2 separate regions of the Homo sapiens genome follow, and region 2 is linked to region 1. Evidence: promoter capture Hi-C in human tissues and cell types (Jung and others, 2019). All regions are on one chromosome and are shown on one strand. The core of a region is centred on a gene start or on the middle of the fragment in contact, and the rest is flanking DNA. Distances in the headings are between cores, read along the strand shown.

Evidence for each region. The method cuts DNA at HindIII sites, captures the fragments that hold promoters and counts their contacts. A contact is called where the count stands out against the background at its distance.
Region 2: a fragment that was not itself captured here is called in contact with the fragment with the promoter of SLC45A3 in region 1 in 8 of the 25 tissues and cell types used here (H1 embryonic stem cells, aorta, bladder and 5 more).

What each region holds. Positions count from the first base shown.
Region 1 is chr1:205,678,385-205,682,167 of GRCh38, reverse strand. It overlaps SLC45A3 (solute carrier family 45 member 3), which reads left to right and starts at 1,659. Exons shown (of 5, transcript NM_033102.3): 1 at 1,659-1,774. LOC105371701 (a long non-coding RNA gene) reads right to left here and starts at 1,798. Exons shown (of 4, transcript XR_007066825.1): 1 at 1,669-1,798. RefSeq lists a silencer at 1,895-2,114 and an enhancer at 3,704-3,783. The HindIII fragment of the contact is 16,856 bases long and covers 1-3,783 here.
Region 2 is chr1:205,729,794-205,733,576 of GRCh38, reverse strand. The region is part of intron 1 of NUCKS1 (nuclear casein kinase and cyclin dependent kinase substrate 1); the gene reads left to right. It overlaps LOC124900423 (small nucleolar RNA SNORA72), which reads left to right and starts at 2,225; the gene lies at 2,225-2,356. The HindIII fragment of the contact is 6,338 bases long and covers 1-3,783 here.

The sequences.
Region 1 (3,783 bases), core at 410-2,909:
GAGCCACTGCGCCTGGCCAACTATTATTATTATAACATGAGGCTACATCAGCAGAAAGAGGGGGATTTTCAGAGCAGAGAGCCCTACTGTACCCTGTATTGGGTGGGGCCTGGCCAGTGCATCCACCTGGTTTAGTTGGGAAGGGGTGATTGGGTAGGGCCCAGGATCACCATGGGATCCAGGCTGTGTGCTCACTCCCCTGAGCTCTCCTTCCTCATCCCCCTGTCATAAGGCATAAAGCACAAGGGCCCCTGGAAAGAAGTGGTGGGAGGCAGGAGGAAGAGGGGGGCTCTTACTTGTCTGTGGTGCGACAACTCTCTCATGTTCCCAGTGTTCTTTCCCAAGCCTGCAAAATACCACCGTCCACTCTCTCCTGGCTCTGTAATTTTCCAGCTGACCTGAAATTTCCCCTGACTCCTGACCTCTTTCCTGGAGGAGAGGGGACACCAGCTCAGAGACCCTGGACTCCACCCTAGTCTCTCTGCTTGCCACGAGAGGGTATGCCAAAGACTTTGGAAAGCCATCTCCAGGAGGGTCCCCAGGTAGAGGTGTGTCTGCTCCAGGGAGGCAACGCTGAGACAGTTTTCAAGTTAAACTTGTTTAGTGACTCAGAAGGTAGATTCTTGATTTTTCTCTTCTCAACTCTCTCTGGCACCTGCTCTCTGTTCCCCACTACCACCAGGGCGCCACTATTTCCTCTCCCTTCTCTATCTCCCTTTCTTCTCTGCCTCCTTCTACCTCTCAGCTGGAAGGTGCCCTTAGAAATCATTTGGCTCACCCCCTCTTACAGAGGCCCAGAACATGGAAGGGACTTGGCCCACGTTATACGGCTGTTGACACAGGGCCAGCATTGGAACCCAGTGCCCCAGTGCCTGGTTGGCTAAGGCCAACCAGGTCTTCCCCTTCGAAGGCATCTTCCTGGGACTTTGTAGTATTCAAGTCAACAATCCAACTAAATTGGATTTCTCTCCACCCAATAAAACTCCATGGAGGAAAAAAAGACAAAACTGCCCCCCAACCCCCAACCCCAGGGCCAGCCTGGGACTCCATCAAAGACATTCTGGAACAGGTATCTGTTCGGACCTTGCTCAACAGCTGACAAAGAGAACATTTCATTGGCAATTTATCATCCATTCTTCCCCGTACACACTCTTAAGAAGAAAAAAAATTGGAATTTGGTTTTCAGCGCAGAAAGAGGGATTGAGTTAGCTCTGTCTGCGTCGGAGAATAGCAAAGAGCAGAAGGGTAATTCGGAGAGAATGTGACATCTCCTTTGAAGGGATGGTCCTGGACAGGTAGGGAGCAGCTCTGCCTGGAGATCGGGTGGCCAGAATGGCACGCCTGGGTAATGGTCGCAGCAGACTGGCTCCGAGTAGGGGAGGGGAGGTGCCCCGCGAAGCCGGGTAGCTTTCACCTAAATGTTTGGTGGCGAGCGACAGAGGGGGCGGTGCCCTGCCCTAGGTAATGATAGGGCAGTCTGGGAGCCACGCGGGGGCTGCCCGTCGCGGCGCGGCTACAAAGCCAGCTTCGAGACCTCCCGCTTTCTTCCCCTGGGTACCAGCCCCACCCCTCTATCCCCCCTCGCAGCACCCCCCACCTCCGTCCCGCCTCGCCCCGCCCCCCTCCTGGCAGTCCCAGCGCGCATGCTCTCTCCCCCCGCGGAGTAACCTGGAGATTTAAAAGCCGCCGGCTGGCGCGCGTGGGGGGCAAGGAAGGGGGGGCGGAACCAGCCTGCACGCGCTGGCTCCGGGTGACAGCCGCGCGCCTCGGCCAGGTAGGAGCGCGCCCCCTCCTCTCCCAGGGGTGAGGGTCCCGGCGCGGGAAAGGGAGCAGCAGTGCACGGCCGAGCTCCGCGCTGTCGCGTGTTTTGCGCCCCGCGGGATGGGGCTGCGCCGTGGCCGTCCGGGGCGCTGCGCGCCGAGCCCCGCGCGAATCCCAGAGGAGGGCGCGTCCCACACGCTCTGCCGGGGCGGGTGCCGAGTGCCCGGCGCCTGCACGGGTCCCCGCTGAGCTGTGCTTTCTTCCGCGGAGGGCGGGCAGGCAGGAGGTGCCCGCGCTGTCCCAGGCGGGGCGGCGGTGTGGGCGGGGAGCGGCCCCTCCCCGGAGCCCCGGGCCGGGCCGGACCGGGCCGGGCCGACGGCTGGCGGACCGGCCGCTGGCTCCTGTTGCAGCCTCCCGTGTCAGACTTTTCTTTGGAAAGTTGCGTTTATTTTCTTCTCTTGTCTGGGCTTCACCGGAAAGGGGCAGGATGAGTCACTGCGGCGCGCACAGTCCGGGACTTGGGGGAGCCGGGACGGGAGCCGACGGCCGCGGCGCCGCGGGGTGCTCAGGCCCAGGCCGGCTTTCTTGAGGAAGAGTGAGTTATTAAGACAGGGAAAGGGGACTGAGCCCTCTTGGACTTAGAACTGGGGCGAGCTCTGGGTACAGAGTTGGGACTGGACCGTGTGTGTGTGTGTGTGTGTGTGTGTGTGTGTGTGTGTGTTACTGTGTCCCCTTTTCAGCCTCAGTTTCCCCCTCTGTGGGGAGAGAAAGGCCGCTGTTTTCTCCTCGCCTCCCAGGTCTCAGGTGGGGAAGGACAGAGTTCTGCAAACGGCAAACAGGTGTGATGTGGTGGTACCTAGGCATCCCGTGCAGCTTCTCAGAGCTCTGGGCCTAGGCAGGCTTGCTAGAAAAGCCCCAGGGACCTGCATGCTTTCTCCCTAGTGCGGGTCAGGCCTTCCTGTAGTCTTCCGCTCCCCCCAGGCACTGCAGTCCTGTGAGTTGCTCTTGCCCTTGACCTCTGAATCAGCCTCCATCTTCCTGACAGACACTCTTGACCTGCTCAGCTTTTCCCCACTCCAGGGCGTGTTCCCTATGCTTCCTCTTTTTCCAAGGGGCCAGAGTTGGGGGTAGGGAGGGGTTTGGCATGGTGGGTACCTGGTGAGGACTCGCCCTTCAGCTGTTACACAGACCCGGTCCCGGTGGAGCAGGGACTAAGAATAGCCCAGCTGCTGTCTTGCTGCCCTGGAGTCTGCAGCCGGGCATTGCCAGTTGACCAGGGCCCGCAGTGACCCTTGCTGGGGTCCTGGAACCTTTGCTCAGGGGTGGGGTTGAGGTCCTAGGGGCTTCGGACTACCTTTCCTGAGGCACTTAGCAGATCTCCTTTCAGAGCAGAGACCGCCTTGGTGTAGACTCACCTGCCCGAGGCCTGGGAAACAGGCTGGCCTATTGGGGTGGGAGTGGGAGGGCCCAGGAGGCCCAGGCTAGACGGGAAGCCTGAGGAAACCCATAGAGCAGCATATTGTAGGGGATAAGTGGGACGCAATTTGAGGTCGCAGGCCATTCTGTTGGATCAGTCCCATTCCCTCATTCCTCCCTTATCTCCTCCCACCAGGCCTGTCGTGGAGCCAGGACTCTGTTGTTCTGAAAGTGCTCAGAAAATGCAGCTTGAGTCAGCAGAATGAGTTTGAAGATAAAAATACAGCTGTGGATGAATGTACAGCTGTGGACAGACAGGCCCCAATTTAGTGGGTGTGTGTTAGGGGGAGTTTTCCTATGTATTCATGGAGTGTGTGGTGAACTTCCCCATCCCTCCTGGCTCCCTGAATAACGTTGAAGGAGGAGGAGGAGTAGACAGTGATCCCTGGTGGTCTCCTGAGCCCATTCCAGGCCACTGGGTGGTGGAGGGATAGTGGAGGCCTCTCTCCAGCTCTCCCCTTACCCAGACTGGAGCTCTCAGCCTGGGCAGGGCTGGTCTGAAGATTCAAAGTAAAGTTAACTTGAAGACTTTAAGTACTATCATCT
Region 2 (3,783 bases), core at 768-3,267, 51 kb before region 1:
AAGCAATTTAGGTTATCAGTTCCAACAGAGGAAGAACTAAGGCCCAGAGAAATTACATGATTTTCTTGACATTCTAGAACCAGAACCCAGGATTCCTAGTACAAAGAGTCCATACTAATTCCTTTCTTGAGTGTTTCTAGTGATAGAGTAAGGAAGTAGCCATTGTTAGCAGACAGTTAAAGCTCTTTATGTTGAACCTACACTTAATGTGATTGCTAAAGCTAAGCTGTACCTCTACTACTCCTTTCACATCAAAGCCCTAAAGTAGCTAACATGTTTTCCCATTTTACAAGTTAAATATTCTCAATTTATTCATTTGTTCTTCATATGATATACCGTTTACCATTCTGGTTGTCCATCCTTATGTAGTTTCATAGGATATATCCATTGCTACGTCGTACCCAGAAATGGGGTAATAATATGTTAGTTGCCACCCCACAAGCATGGGATAAGCTAGAATTATACCTACAAGTTCGGAACCTGTATTTTAATTATTAGAGGATAAGATGTAAGAGTTCCTCTTCTAGATACCTTTCTTCCCCTGGTTCTATGACCCATTTTTTTTATCCTAAATAATACAGAAAATGGTCGTGTTTGCATTATGATCATCATACTATTTTTCATGGCATTTGTCATTAAAAAATCACTGTTTTGCCAGAACATGGCAGGCATTTCCATAGTAGCCCAAAAATATTAGATTTTTTCATAGTCATATTTTTAAGAAAGAAAATATATTTTTATTGTAATAAAATATGCTTAGCATAAAATTTACCATCTTAACTTTTTTTTTTTTTTTTGAGACAGAGTCTTGCTCTGTTGCCAGGCTGGAGTGCAGTGGTGCGATCCCTGCTCACTGCAACCTCTGTCTCCCAGGTTCAAGCAATTCTCCTGCATCAGTCTCCCAAGTAGCTGGCACTACAGGCACGCACCACCACGCCCAGCTAATTTTTGTACTTTTACTAGAGACGGGTTTTCACCATGTTGGCCAGGATGGTCTCGATCTTTTGACCTCATGATCCGCCCACCTTGGCCTCCCAAAGTGCTGGGATTACAGGCATGAGCCACTGTGCCCGGCCCATGTTAACCATTTTTAAGTGTATAGTTCAGTATTGTTAAGTACTTGACATTGTTGTAAAGAACTCTTAATCTTGCAAAACTGAAACTAAACCCACTAAACAACAGCTCCTCATCCCCACTCTTCCAGCCTCTGGCAACCACCACTCTACTTTCTGTCTCTCTGAATTCATCTACTCTAGGTCCCTCATGTACATGGAATTAATAGTCATATTTAAAGTTAGCTTTCCTAATAATATAGTATCTTTGGTAATATAAACTCAGCTTCTTACAATAAAATATATAGTTGGAGTATATTTTATAGTTTTGTTAAACTAAAGAAAAACAGAAGGTGGAACTCCTTAAGAGCCTTGTTTTTTCTCTTTCTAATGCTGAGTATGTAACTATATATTCCTCTACATATAAGCCCAAGCCTTTTTTTCCAGAATTCACCTCCATCCATACCATCTCCACATACTATACTAGAAGGTGGACCAGTGTTTGCAGTCTGACCATCCTGTCTTTGAATTTAAATGGTGTCTTAATCTATACAGCCAAGAATATCCCTCTGCTCAGGTTTAAGTATAGGTGGTAATGTATATTTATCTTAAATTTTTTTTTTTTTTTTGAGACGGAGTCTCTCTCTTTCGCCCAGGCTGGAGTGCAGTGGCGTGATGTTGGCTCACTCACTGCGAGCTCTGCCTCCCGGGTTCAAGCCATTCTCCTGCCTCAGCCTCCCGAGTAGCTGGGACTACAGGCGCCCGCCACCACACCCAGCTAATTTTTTAGTATTTTTAGTGGAGACGGGGTTTCACCACGTTGGCCAGGATGGTCTCAATCTCCTGACCTCGTGATCTGCCCGCCTCGGCCTCCCAAAGTGGTGAAATTATAGGCGTGAGCCACTGCGCCTGGCCTATTTCTCTTAATTTTTTAAGTTCACTTGATCAATTTAGGCCTACAGTAACAGTGCATTTTTTAATCTAAGGCTCTTTTGCCAGGTAGGCTGTTTGGGTACTAACATGGAAGCTTACATGTATATCTCTAGAGAAGAAGTATTAAACTTTTAGATTTAGAGTGCAGAGTACAAAAATAGAAATGAAGATTTGTTTGAGATGTTAAAGATACGTTACTTGATAGGGAGTACTTAAAGTCATTTAGAGTCAAATAGATTCTGCAGATATTCTCACTGTTTTGATTTTGTAATAGTCAGGACAGGCTAACCATTCACTTTATTAAGACCATGCATATATCCCCAGAACTAGTTCTTTCCTGAGGTCTAGTTTTATAAATGTTGCTGATAAACCAGGTCTGTAAAATTGGAAAAGGAAAAAAAAAGTTTAGAAACAAAAGAATAGAGTCAAATACATAGATGTACATAAATCTGTGAGGCTTTCATAGTTTTTTAAATAAAGCATCTTTTGACTGGACCAATTAATTTGTTTCCTTCCCCTTCTGTATAAAGCTTAACATTACCATAATTTTTGTGCATTATAATGTAACTGTACTATACCTAAAAATTGCTTTTGCCTTGAAAAGCTTAGTAATAACCTTGTTTATCAAGTATACATATATATGTGTGTAGCAGTAAGAGTAAAATATCATTTACAACTTTAGCTTATAAATAGGGCATCTTTGTATATAATGAATACATAGGTACATGGTGATTTGGCTCATTTTGCTGTTTTATGTATATTTGTTTTGAGAGACGGGAGATTGTTTTGTAGAAAAGAATGGTATTTGAGACCGGGCACGGTGGCTCACGCCTGTAATCCCAGCACTTTGGGAGGCCAAGACGGGCGGATCACGAGATCAGGGGAGACCAGCCTGGCCAACATGGTGAAACCCCGTCTCTACTAAAGATACAAATATTAGCCAGGCGTGGTGGCACACGCCTGTAATCTCAGCTACTCGGGAGGCTGAAGCAGGAGAATCGCTTGAACTTGGGAGGCAGAGGTTGCAGTGAGCCAAGATCTCGCCATTGCACTCTAGCCTGGGCGACAGGGCAAGACTTCATCTCAAAAAAAAAAAAAGAGAGAGAAAAGAATGGTATTTGAATTATCACTGAGATGAGCAGTATGAGAATTGTAGCTTGACATACTTGTGGTTTATGCTATGCTTTCTTATAACAGAATGTTAAGTACTTAGGCTTAAGTGGGGGCCTTTAAAAAATAATTTTTGGCTGGGTGCAGTGGCTCGTGCCTGTAATCCCAGCACTTCGGGAGGCTGAGGCAGGATGACTACCTGAGCTCAGGAGTTTGAGACCAGCCTGGGCAACACCAGGAGACCCTGTCTCTACAAAAAATGAAAAAAAATTAGCCAGCATGCGTCTGTAGTCCCAGCTACTCAGGAGGCTGAGGCAGGCGGATTACTTGGGCCCAGTAGGTCAAGGTTGCAGTGAGCCATGATTGTGTCACTGCTCTCCAGCCTAGGCGACAGAGTGACACCCTGTCTCAAAAAATTAATTAAATAATTTTCTTTTTTTTTCTTTTCTTTTTTTTTTTTGAGATGGAGTTTCACTTTTGTTGCCCAGGCTGGAGTGCAATGGAGGTATCTCGGCTCACCACAACCTCTGACCCCTGGGTTCAAGTGATTCTCCTACCTCAGCTTCCCAAGTAGCAGGGATTACAGGCATGCACCACCACGCTTGGCTAATTTTGTGTTTTTAGTAGAGACAAGGTTTCTCTATGTTGGTTAGGCTGATCTCAAACTCCCAACCTCAGATGATCCACC